Regions from separate parts of the Homo sapiens genome. Here region 1 is linked to region 2. Evidence: promoter capture Hi-C in 16 types of primary human blood cells and fetal thymus (Javierre and others, 2016). All regions are on one chromosome and are shown on one strand. Each heading gives the region's core, a stretch centred on a gene start or on the middle of the fragment in contact. The rest is flanking DNA. Distances are from core to core; before and after follow the strand shown.

Region 1 (6,424 bases), core at 2,427-4,926, 260 kb before region 2:
CTGAAAAACCATTCATTAAATGAAATGACCGGAAAAGTTATTGGTTCTTCTTTGAATTTCGCCACAGGAAGAGGAAGAATCAAACCAACAAAGGGTGTTTACAGGGTCATGGGTGAGAAAAAGAATGAAGTTGCTTTTGGCTTACACCCTAGAAAGTCATCTCTTAAATAAAACACTTACATTTGGACTAGTGATTCCCCAAGTGAAACCATTTCAGGATGTGCCATTGTCCAAGGTATAACTATGGGGGTGGGGTGACTGAGGTGGAGAACTGAAAATCGTTGGAAATGAGATAAAAAATCTGTGAGGCCAGGATATTTGAAGGGCTATTCATGAACATAGTGTAGTCATTCAGTCACTGACAAGATTTGGACTAAGGAAGATGATTAAGTGCTGAGTGCAAATGTTATCTTAAATGACAGTGGGTGACCAGGAGATCAAAATATAATGGTCAAAGGAATGGGGAGAGAAAGAGATATCCAAGTTACATGATCCTTAAAAAAAATGGATTTATTTTTTGTGTGAGTGGAGGATTAATGTTCTGGAATAGACAGTGGGAGCAAAGAGGACACTGACTTATCTCTCAATGCTGAGGTATATGGTGTTGAAAACATTCCACTTCAGGAGTAATATCCCCTGGGAACCATCCATTAAGGTGTGTAGATGGGGAAACCCTTCTTAAAGAAGTTTAGGGACTTATTGAGTATGTACCACCAGTATCAACAGAAAAATAATGAAAAGCTTTGGGAGTAGTGGTGAGAAGGAAAGACATGGGGGAAGAGTTGGGTAAGAGACAAGAAAGAAGGATGAAGAAATGAATGAAATTGGGTTTTTAAAATATTTCAGTGGCTTCAGCTTAAATACTTTTATTGCTACATCTCTATTGATGGAAAGATAAATGCTATATTAGTCAGCTCATATCACCATAACAAAACACCACAGACTAAGTGGCTTAAACAATAAAAATTTATTTCTTGCAGTTCTGAAGATTGGATCAGGGTCTGGCAGGGTCAGTGTCTGGTGAGGGCTCTCTCCTGGCATTGCAGACAGATGCCTTCTTGTGGCTTTTTCCATAGCAGAGAGAGAGAGAGAGAGAGAGAGAGGAATCAAGCTCTCTCATGTGTCCTCTTATAATGACATAATCCTATCAGACCAGGGCCACATCCTCAAAGGAAGGTACAGTATCTTCCAAATGCCCCATTGCCAAATACAATCACATCAGGAGTTAGGGTTTCAACATATGAATTGGTGCGGGTGGTGGGACACAAATATTCAGTCCATAACAAATATAGAGCAGTTCTCATGGTAGTTTTTTGTTGTTGTTGAACAGAACTCAGGCATGAGAACCAAATATCGAACAAAGAAGGGCCACGTGACACGTAAACTTACGTGTTTGTGCATTGCCTACTCTTCTACCATTGGTGGACTGACAACAATCACTGGTACCTCCACCAACTTGATCTTTGCAGAGTATTTCAATACGTAAGTAACCTTATTGGATTGGTGATTTAACATAAGGGCAGCACAAAAATTATAAAAATTATTCTTACCTGATTCAGAGAATTCAAGTACAGAGATGTTATGTTAACTCTCCCTTGTTTCCCTTCAGGACATCTATAGATCTACAGACCTTCCTTTATACTGAGAATTAAATATTCAGGGAATACTGAATTAACTTGTGCCAACAGATTTCCCAGGTCAGCTCAGAGGGGATAACTCTTGGCTGACCACCCTTAACAAACAGGAAAAACATTTTTCATTGAAAATAATACCACAAATGGTAGTTAACTAAAGTGAAAAGGAATTATTTTCTTGGGACAATTTATGTAGGGTTTGGGGACCAACATGTGAACTTAAGTAATGAATGGTGAACAGAGGTATTAATTTTGGAAGGCTTGGCTTTGGAATTCAAAAAAGATTTGAAAGATTGAACAATTGTAATAAGTGTCAGTAATAAAGTATTCTACAAACAGATATATGACTGTTAATATGTTTGGAACTGTGATGACAATTCCATTGCAGAAATGGGAATCTGTGGATTCAACAGGTAGAACACTTGGGTTAAAAAATCCTCAATTTGCAGGTACTTACATTGTGAATTATTTTACTTACTTATTTATTTTTCTGAGACAGGGTCTCACTCTGCTGCCCAGGCTGGAGGACAGTGGTGCGATCTCAGCTCACTGCAACTTTTGCCAAGTGATTGTCGTGCCTCAGCCTCCCGAGTAGCTGGGATTACAGGCATGCACCGTAATACCCAGCTAATTTTTGTACTTTTAGTAGACACGGGGTTTTGCCATGTTGGCCAGGCTGGTCTCAAACTCCTGATCTCAAGTGATCCACCTGCCTTGGCCTCCCAAAGTGCTAGGATTATAGGCATGAGCCCCTGCACCCGGCCACATTATGAATTTAACAACAAAAAGGTCCATGATTCTCCCAAGACTTAATTTTTTCATATGTAAAATAGTCACAGTTGATAGGGTTATTGTGAGAATTCAATGAAGTAAACTATGTAAAAATATTTTGCGCTATGTAAGTATCATTGAAACAATAGTATGAAAGTCCATGGTGTCATATGTGCACTCAGACTGGTTCTACTAAAAGAACAGATAATAATCAGAATTTCAAGAAGACAGACACAATTGAGAAAGCCTAGGAACAGGATTTGGGTTCACAGAAAAATTAGAGTTTAGAGGCAGGAAAACTACTCTCTGTGAAGTAGATTCATAGACTCTATGAATTTTCTGAAATTATTTGCAAAATGTTGTGCATGCACGGATTCTCTAAGAAATACAAGACTCAAAGAATGTCAATCTCCATTCTAGAAAGAATGGGTGTTTGTGTTCAACGAACACTGGTATAGGAGTTTAGGATCAATATTACACAGACCTCCAAGAGTATTGTTTCTATGAATACACATCCATTATCTACACTCCAATTACTGACTTAGAAAACTTTAAAAGGTTTTTGGTTTATAAATGAGAGGCTTCTGAAACTCACAGTACCAGTGAGGATTTATCCAATGTATCCCCTAATTTAAGACAAGAAATGCACCTGACATCTTTTTGAAAATGACTTATATCCTTTCTCATGAATTCTCCAAGAGAAGGGATTCCACATCTTAGTTCCTGTCTGTGAATTTCTTTTTCTAATATCCAGACCGAATTCTTATGCTTCATCTTTGTTGATATTAGAGAACTGCTGGTTTCCATCATTCACATGAAATTAGTTGATACAGTCAAGTAATTCATATTACTCTGTAAGATTGCAATATGGTAAATACTATGGAAGAAATTTTGACACGGCAGAGTTTGGACTTAGACCTCAATTCAGATTTCAAGCTCACCATATATTAGCTTAACTTCTGTGACTATCAGTTTCCTTTTCTGTAAAATGGGGATGATACTAGAACTTACAACATTATTGAATTAATTAAATGCCATAATGCACATGTGGCTCTAGCAGAGGGTCTGGCACATAGTAACTTGTCAATAATGTTAGCTGTTGTTATTGCCACTGCTCTACTTTTGCCATGGCTGTTAAAAATCTCAGCCTGGATCATGAATGATAAATAGTTAATATTTTGAGGAAAATCCTCTGGAAGTACACACACACAAAATGGAAAAGTAGCTTTATCTCAGAGATAATCAAAACTGTCATCAGTCAAAAGGTCTATAATTGGTGTGCAATTATAGTATCTATAGTAGCATACTATGACACTTAATGCCCAAAATCTGTTCCAAGGTTATAAATTTCCAAGACTACATTCATTCTTTTGAAGCTATGTTCTGAGTATTTCATGGGTATTAAAGTTATTTGTTTTGCAGTGGGGCATAAGTTGCATATAACATGTAAGTTACTTGCAGTGACAATGACTCTTCCTAAGAGTCAACCTTGACGTGTAAATGTGCTTTAGGTCAAAGCACATCTCCGTGTTATGGGGCATCATTTCTACAATTGTTTTAAAGTGCCAAGAAAACATAAAGTTTGTACTCCAGCCTGCGGATGTTTTGTAATATATGTGGCATTTTCTCTTTTTACCTGGGAGCTAAAATTGAGGATGTAATGGTTTAATGAACAGAGGTTGTGTTTTAAACTCCTCCTGGGTTAAAAATCCAGTTTGACTACACAATCTGACTTTGAGAAATCCACTTAGCCCCCTAAGACTCAGTTTATTCCTGTGTAAAATAAAAATTTAATGCTTTTTTCACAGGATTTTTGATAAAATTAAAAGTGCTTAGCTCATCTGCTCATTTCTACCTAACCTCTAAAACTTACAGTGCCCCAAGAGAAGCACTTCAGTTTCTCTTCTAAATCTCCATTACTGCTTAAATGATCAGACCCATTTCTATGTTTGTAATACCACCTATGTGCTGATAACTACCAATTTTTTATCTCTATCCCTGCCCTTTCCTCTGAATTTCAGACTTACTTATCCAGCTGCATTCCAACATGACCACTTCAAAAACTGAGGGACATCTCAAATCATCACATCCCAAAACAGCATGCTTGATCTGCCACCTCTCCCCTGCCCTCCTGCCAATCCAACCTCCCCTCAGACTTCACCATTTCAACATATGACATCTTTTCTCCATTTCCTAGGTTTTATTCCAAATATATCTAAAATATCTTGCCTTCTGTTTATCTTCACATGTAAACTAAAATCTACTCCACTCTACCCTACTTCCGAGGGACTTTATCTTGTAATAGGTTTCCCTGTGTATTCCTCTTCTACTGCTACCTTACAAATGGCAATCAACTTAGTGGCTTAACACAGCACACATTTATTATCTCATTATTTTTGTGGGTCAACAGTTCAGGAAGAAAGGGGCAGAGCAAGATGGTGGAATACAGGGCTCCATGGATAGTACCCCGTGCAAGGACACCAATTTAACATCTATCTACATACAGAAAAGCACCTTCATAAGGACCAAAAATCAGGTGAGCACTCACAGTAGCTCCTTTTAATTTCATATCATTGAAAGAGGCACTGAAGAGGTAGAGAAAACAGTGTAAAATCACAGATGCTGCCCCTCCCTCATTCCCTGGCAGTGGCAGCATGTTGCAGAGAGCATTCTTGTGCTGTGGGGAGAGGAGGAGCCCAGCAATTGTAAGTCATTGAAATCAATGCTGTCCTGTCATAGCAGAAAGAAAAACAGGAATAAACTCAGCCCACACACCAAGGGAGCATTTAAACCAGCTGTAGCCAGAGAAGAAGTGCCCATCCCAGCAGTTGGAACTTGACTTCCCACAACCCTCACCACTGCGGGCTAAAGTGTTCTGGGGCCAAAAATAACTCTGAAAGGAAGTCTAGGGCACAAAAACTACAACTCCTAGACATCTTCTAGTGCTGAACTGTGCCTTGAGCCAGAGGACTTGTGTGGGGGGAATGTAGTCTACTGGGACAAAAGACAGGGCAGCTAAGGGAGTCCTCATATCCCTCTTCACTAACTCCAGGTTGCACAGATTGCAGCTCCAAAAAAAGACTCCTTCCTACTGCTCGAGGAGAGGAGACGAGAGGAGAGGGAAGAGTGGAGAGGACTTTGTCTTGCATCTTGGATACCAGCTCAGCCACAGCAAGTTAGGGCACTGGCCCCCTTTCCAGGCTCTAGCTTTAGGACGACATTTCTAGACACACCCTGGGCCAGAATGAAATCTGTTGTTCTGAAGAAAAAGACCAAGCCTGGGAGGTTGCATCACCTGCTAACTAAAGAGCTCTTCGTCAGCCGGGTGCGGTGGCTCACGACTGTAATCCCAGCACTTTGGGAGGCCGAGGAGGGCAGATCAAGAGGTCAGGAGCTCAAAACCAGCCTGGCCAACATAGTGAAACCCCATCTTTACTTAAAAATACAAAAATTAGCCGGGCATGGTGGCACATATCTGTAGTCCCAGCTACTCAGGAGGCTGAGGCAGGAGAATCGCTTGAATTTGGGAGGCAGAGGTTGTGGTGAGCCAAGATCGCGCTACTGCACTCCAGCCTCCATCAAAAAAAAAAAAAAAAAGTTCTTGCCCCTGAAAGCAAGACTCAGGAGTTACATCAAGAGCTTTGGGTGAGACTGTAGAGACTCTAAGAGTTGCTGGCTTCAGGTGAGAATCAGTGCATTCTTAGCTGTGGTGGCTGTGGGTTGAGACTCCTGCTTAACAAAAGCAGAGGGAAAACTAAAGAGGACTTTGGCTTGCACTTTAGGTGCCAGCTTGGCCACAGCGGTGTAGAGCACCATGCAGGTTCTTAAGGTCTCTGATTCCTTGACTTGGCTCTTGGATGGCATTTATGGACCTGTCCTGGGAAGGAGGGGGAGTCCTCTGCCCTGAAAGGTGAGTCCCAGGCCAGGCAGTATTCACACAAGCTGACTGAAGAGCCCTCGGACCTTAAGGGAACATCAGTGGTAGTTTGGCAATGCTCCCCATGGATCTGTGGTGGCAG
Region 2 (7,102 bases), core at 51-2,550:
TGAAAGTGGCCTGAAAAAGCTAAAACTGCTGTTTGACCATGGTGGTAGAGGAGCTCAGAGCTGGTAGTTAATTTGCCCTGTGTTATTTCCACTGAACTTCATCACCTCCCTGCCCACCTGGTCGCTGCACACTCCACCTGGTGTTGAATGCATTGTTTTGCCTATTTCCCCCTCTGTCAGGACTTAGGACATAAGATACAGAATTACTATAAGAAACTCCTAGGTGGTTCCAGCACTAGGACTGAGAAATCTGCGCAGATAAGGCAGGCTTCAGCGCAGCTACAAGACGCCGACTTGAGGCCAGAACCACCAGCGACTGAGTGTCATGTGCCTTAGTCACCGCGGGCTCCGCAAAAGGCTAACAGTGCTGGACACCGGGAGGGCGCTCAAATCTTTGTTGAATAAATGTCCACACTACACAACCTGTTTTGAGTCAACTGCATCCCAACCCAGAAAATAATCGAGATATGTTTGAGCTGAATCAGTATCATTTTGCACATATAAAATCTCTCTTGCCTTGAGTCTGCAGGACTAGAACAGTTTAAAAAGTAAGCCTCGTTGGTTTTCTTTTTTTTTTCATTACTCCGACTTTTATAATTTGGGCTTCAGCATGAGTATCAAAACGGCAGCAGAGCAGAGTGAGACTTTTCAAAGTCTTGTCGCAAAGATACTTCGTGGTGAAGGGCTCCAGTCCCGCTTTTCCGCGCTGGGGTTCAATCCTAGGCAGCCGATTCGGGTTGGGGAGATGTCTCGGCCGCTCCCCCTAACCTCTTGCTAGGGAACAGTCCCTCCCCGCTCCCCATTCCACCTCCACCTGCTGGAGAAAAGATCACAGGTGGTAGGGTGAGGGTAGTCGGAGCAGCCCCGGTGGACGCTTACACGGGCCATCGCGCTCGGCCGCTCCCCGCCTTTGCAAACTGTGTGCTAGGGCTCCAGGCGGGCCCGGGCAGCAGCGGCGGCGCGCGCACGCGCACTCCGCGGCCCCGCGCGGCTCTTCAACATTCAATTCCACGTGTTGCTTGTTGTAGGCGCCACAGGTTCCCCACCTGCGTCCGGGCGCTCGGGCGGCTCCGCCTCTGCCGGCGGGCTCTGGGGAACCGCTGGGTCGGCGCGCCCGGGGCTGGCGGAGCAATTCCTGAGGCGCCCAAGCTCACCCCCAACGCTAACTCCGCCTATTCAGTCCCGGCGGCTCCCCCTCTCCCCCCTCCCAATCCTCCTCCCGGCTCCTGCCCGCCCCTTTCGCCCTGGTGGTAGGAAACACTCCTGAATCTAACTCGACGTGTCCGGAAAGCCCTGGCCAGTTTTCCTTTCGTTCTGCGGCCGCTGCAGCCAGCCCCGCGGCTCCCTCAGACCCGCGGGCGCAGCCGCCGGGGGTGAGGCGCTTGGGGACCGCGGGCCGAGCGGCGGGGATCCCCGAGCACCATGCTGGACCCGTCTTCCAGCGAAGAGGAGTCGGACGAGGGGCTGGAAGAGGAAAGCCGCGATGTGCTGGTGGCAGCCGGCAGCTCGCAGCGAGCTCCTCCAGCCCCGACTCGGGAAGGGCGGCGGGACGCGCCGGGGCGCGCGGGCGGCGGCGGCGCGGCCAGATCTGTGAGCCCGAGCCCCTCTGTGCTCAGCGAGGGGCGAGACGAGCCCCAGCGGCAGCTGGACGATGAGCAGGAGCGGAGGATCCGCCTGCAGCTCTACGTCTTCGTCGTGAGGTGCATCGCGTACCCCTTCAACGCCAAGCAGCCCACCGACATGGCCCGGAGGCAGCAGAAGGTGAGTTGCGGGACCGGGCGCCTCCTACCACCACTTCTCCCTGGGTTTTTCTCCCGGGAGAGCTCTGGGACGCCTCCCGTCCTTCTGCGAAACGCAGGACACCGTATTTTTGTTAGTCTCTGAGGGCAGAGGAATCTTTGGGGACAAGACGGTGCTTTCACCCGCCGGGTATGCGGCTGCAGCGGACACCTCTTCTCCTCCTCCCCGCCTGGGCTGGCAGGAGCTGTCAGCTCACCATCCGTGAGACAGAGACCGACAGCGCCGGCCGCGCCGCGGTTGCACCCGGCAGGCGCAGCTCTGGCCGGATTAGAATGCAACTCCCATCAACTTTAATTTCCAACAGCACTGGTGCATTCCTGTCCACCTAGCCTGGCGTGATATTGCTAGAGCTGGGTTTGCCGAGGGTCTGAATGAGTGTTGTAGCTAGGCGAAACAGGTGGAGCCCGAGTACTTCTCTTAGCTAGAGTGAAGTCTTCACTTAAGAGGGGTAGAAATTTTCCTCAGTGAATAAAAAAGTTAAATTAATACGTTTCCTATATTGTCATACAACCAGGACATCAAATCCAAACACCGAGAAGGCATGCAGCTTTGTAAAGTGTTTGTGGGTAAGTAATTTCTGGTCTGGGCAGGCCTGATTAATGAAATATACTATTACTGATGAAAGATAAAGGATTGGTGCATGATCACTTCATAACAAATGCTTTCCAAATGCTTTTTTGGGGAACAAAATGCTTATTCTCCCCCAAAAGGTAAGAAGTTTGTTTCAGGTGAAAGGCTGGCCAACTTGAGTTTCAAAACAAGACCCCAGGGGCCTGATGTTCTGTACCAGACACGAGTAATGACTCAAATTGTCCTAAGTGGTTAAATGTTTACAATACAAACTCTAGGAAATCTTTTTAATAGAATGCTGAACCTGGAAGGTTCTGTAGAAATCGGTAACAGTTCCCTCAGTTTGTGACAAGACCTAGAGATCCAGAGAGATTGTAGTCTGCTCAAGGCATACCTACATGCACAGACATTTATTAGTTTTCTGAAATATTAACTTCAGTGTGTGAGGCATTTTTAGAAATTTGGAGAGGTTTTGAGTTGACTTCAACTATAACTGTAGTTCAGAGTAAATTCAGTCTCCCTACATTCTCCTACCCCCATTTAGATAACCTTTATTTTTTGAGGTATAATTGACATGTAAAAAGCTGTGCATACCACTCCACCCTAACTATTGGTGGTTTCATAGGTGTATAAGTATCATGGGGATAAGTACACACCTATAGTTAACACTATTGTATGCTTAAGATCTATCCTCTTAGAAAAAAATTTTAAGTGGTCTTACCCAACTTTTTAAAACACACACAAACTGAGCAACTATTTTGGAATCATTTATTCTCTGGGAATCCTTATGGAATATTTCCTTACAGCTGGAGATTAATAACAGATCCTTCAGGTAACCTAACCCTAGGTATTCAGTCACAGAATGGTAGGGAGACTCCTCATGTTGGAGAAGAGAAATAGGTCATAATAGCATTTCCCAATCCCAAACAAATTGGCACAGTTAAAACCACCATTACTCAGGTAAGTTTTGAATGCCCCGCGGTGTTTTTATGAGCCTGCTGCTCCACTCCTGTATGAATCCCATACTTCCTAATCAGCTGCTCTAATTGAGTCTGTTCTGAGGCAGTCACCCGTGGCCTCTTCTCAATTCTAGTCAAGCGACTGTCAGCTTCAATAGTCATTGTTAAAACTATTTTTTGTATATGTTGTGGTATGAGTTCATATCATCCAGTCTCTAGTTTTACCATTCATATTGCATTTAAGCCTATTTTTAATGATTAAAGTGTAAAAATAATGTTTGGTAAAATTAAGAGACTATTTTCTCCTTGGAATATTATCCTTGAAGATGCTTTTGCAAATTTACTATGAGTTGATTTATACTGTGAATACTTGTTGCATTTTGTTAATGAAGTGGACCCTCCCTTAGCTGTTCAAATAGTGCATTTTTCTCTGACTCCTTCTGTTTAAATATTTGTTCAAAATTATTTGAATTGGCAAGCAGGTGCATTCACAATACTACTGGGGAGACTATTGTTATAACCTTATCCAGGCATTACCAAAGATAATTTCAAACTACAAAAAAAGCAAAATACAACATATATTCTATGAAAAAAAATAGAATCCTTAGGAATTTCCACATTCTAAATGCTTAGAGCATTGAGCACAGGTTAACTTTTGTGAATTACTTTTATTTTTTATTAAGATGGATGCCAAATAGCCTAAGTATTTACTTTACTCAACCCTCCCCCACCTTTTAAAAAATGTGCTGCTTACTAAAGGGAGCTGGAGCAACTTTTGGCAGTCTGGTTTCCTCTTAGGGCAAAATGAAATGGGAATTTAACTATGTTTATGTGAATTTGATGCACAAGCTAATAAGTAATGCCAAAACTTACTTGAAGTCTTGCATTATACAGTTAGATTATCTAAAAGAAGTAACAAGGTAATTGCAAAATCACTAATCCGTTGTTTATTTTATTCTGTATCTTCAAGTAGTCAGGCATCCAGTAAAAAGATTTAATAGCTGAAATTGTTGTCATTGAAATGAATATTGCTGCTTACTCACTTCTCTCAACTTCAAGAATTTAGAGACCCAGAAATTGAGATCTGAAAGGGTCCTCATTTTATGAAGAAAATTAATCACAAAGATAAGATCTTTACCCAGGAGGCCAGGAGTCAGGTTTCTCTTTAGTCAAAGCCCGTTCACTATTAGAGCTGGTGAGTTTCTATGAACCAGAACTGAGCAGCAGTGTTATTTATTTATTTTTTTCACTTGGCTAAAATGGTCCACAAAGTTAGTAAGAGGTTGTGTCTATGAGCTATTTGAGAAAGCTTAGTAGCATTAAACACAGTTAACGAACACATGAATTTCTTTGCTTTTGTCTAGACTATTTCAATTTTGAGGAATAATAGTGGTCAGTTTATGACATTCAAGCCCTCTGATTGACCACTGATGGTTTTACAGAAAATTCTGGGGGTGCATATGGGCTACACACTGTGACAGAGTGCCTTTCCAGGTGCTACACCTCCTAAATGAACATATCCAGGGGTTCACACATGATATGAGTATGAACTAATAAACAGTGATTGAAAGTGATGTCAGTAGTGATAGTGCTTGAGCCTCTAATGCTGATTTACCCTGATTACCTTTGCACCACCCCAGTGCTAACAATGATGATTAACTTTGGATGGTTCTAGATCTTCAGTTAAAGGTAGAGTCAGTGTTGAAACTAGAAAAACAATAATACAAATCAGGTACTAATTAATAAAGGCAATTTGTTAGACTTATGAAAAACATTGAGACCTCGGAGGAGAAAGTAAAAAAAAAAAAAAAAAGGGTTCCTTGGTGGTTTGAAAGTTAGAGAGATCCTGATAAGCATAATGACCAACATAGAAGAGATTAAGTACCTTTACTCATAAATGTGAGTTCACAGACTTCAGGTCTAAATTCGTAACAATATTTAAGATGTATATGGCTTAAAGTGCTGGTAGTTTTGATTAGAATCCATAGGTTTCTAGTCACTGCTCTTTTCATTATTTGAGTTTTTATGTATTTTTTAACTAGAAATAAGAGGGTATTAAAATAGAACCTACTAACCTTCCATATAATTCATATACCTATATTTTTATGTTTCAGTGTGTGTCTCCACTGTAACCACACTAAATTGTGCCTTATTAAACCATTTTGTATAATCACTCCTACCACTTTGCATAATTTTCTGTGATAATTCTAAGTTTGAGAAATGTATGTAAATAATACTGTGAAATTGCAGATGGTGGGGAAGTAAACAGGTAAAATTGATCTGGAGAAGAACATTTGGGGAAATAGTATTGGGTGAAATAATATACCTCCAACTCGCTCATTTGAATGTTGTAACTACTATAAAGTGGCCACTTTTATCTCCCTTTGGACATAGTGGTACTTTCCAGGTTTTATTTTGTTTTCATCTTCTGACTACTTTGGTGTCTGCTGTGTACATGTAAGTCTCAGATTCAGTCCATGCCTCAAAGAATTAGTGAGGAATAGGATGGAGTAAAGATAATATAAAGGCAATGTGAAAGGGTCTTTTACTTTTCTGTGGGAAAGTGGGAACTAGTGTTCCTAAACATGTTTTGAGACCTCTGAAACTCACCTTATTCCCCTAAAGAAAGCCATAAAAATGGTAATACCTGTTGGTGTAAAACTAGTGAATTCAAAGTAACACTTTCCTGATGTTTCTAGCAAGCCCCAGAGACAAGTTAGCAGTGTTGAAGCCCCATAGTATGCCTTTCTTTCTGGCCTGCAGTTTTCCAGCAGATCTGATGATAGTCCAAAAATGCCATACTCTTAGGGAGATAGGGTGATTCATTTTTTTGTGCTCCTTTGGCTTTGATGCATTATGGTCCAAGTACAGAAGAGATGGGTTGTGATATTTGCTGCTTTTAATTATAGGGAATACCTTGCCCTGTTGGGAGTGAGTTGGAAACCACGTATTAAAGTAAAACCTCACACTGGACTTAAAACAGTATCTCAGGGAAAATTGCTTGTTGCTTCAGCTGATTCTTTTAACCTTCCACAGGGTATCCTGAGACCACAGCACTTAATTTGGTGGAATGAGTTGTGCTAATGAGAACTCAGACAGATTAAGTGACGTTGTCATTTGCTTCTTTCCTTCAAAAATGAAATCAGCTGCGATTTTGATATATAATGACTGCTTATTAGGTGAATAAAATATTTTAATGGTGTGTTTTCCCTTTTCAGTTTCGTTTTGTTTGCCTTTAATGGAAACAGCTCTCTTCATTCATACTTTTACAAAGTAAACACAGTTTGTAAGGTCATTAAAGACTTTCAAAACAAAATAGGAAAGCTGACTGCCAGATTATAAAGTCTGGGAATTCTGAATGGAAAATTCTTTATCATTTGCTAGTGAGGTAGACCACTTTTGACTGATTGTGCTACTTTATATTTATTTCAAATTAATTGAGACCTTTGTGAAGGAAGAGGTGGATTGCATAGTTATGTGACATTGCTGTTTCAGTTTTTAGCCTAGGAAAGACCTAATAATTAAATAGTGGACATATCAGTGGGACAAATGGCATATTTTCTAGGGTTTGAAGAGCATTTAAACATCAGATTATGGAATTGTTGTCCAAAATCTGTAATATATCATTTTATGTTCACTGTGTTTCAGTTACCTAAATGTTTTGATATGATTTCCTTAAGGAAAAAGAAGTGCGATTCTTATCTTAACTGCACATTAGAATCACCTGGAGAGCTTTAAAAACAATCTCATTATCCAGGTTGTACCCCAAGGTA

What was found. The method cuts DNA at HindIII sites, captures the fragments that hold promoters and counts their contacts. A CHiCAGO score of 5 or more calls a contact.
Region 1: a fragment that was not itself captured here is called in contact with the fragment with the promoter of CADPS2 in region 2 in 1 of 17 cell types (endothelial precursors); the score reaches 6.5 in endothelial precursors.

What each region holds. Positions count from the first base shown.
Region 1 is chr7:123,142,217-123,148,640 of GRCh38, reverse strand. It overlaps SLC13A1 (solute carrier family 13 member 1), which reads left to right. Exons shown (of 15, transcript NM_022444.4): 7 at 1,331-1,482. Among named protein-coding and RNA genes, the nearest start is that of SLC13A1, 55 kb to the left of the region's middle. The HindIII fragment of the contact is 5,865 bases long and covers 744-6,424 here.
Region 2 is chr7:122,880,658-122,887,759 of GRCh38, reverse strand. CADPS2 (calcium dependent secretion activator 2) reads left to right here and starts at 1,300. Exons shown (of 30, transcript NM_017954.11): 1 at 1,300-1,761. The coding sequence starts at 1,423. RefSeq lists silencers at 893-1,052, 1,063-1,222, 1,293-1,372, 1,383-1,432, 1,473-1,602 and an enhancer at 1,963-2,012. The HindIII fragment of the contact is 15,066 bases long and covers 1-4,640 here.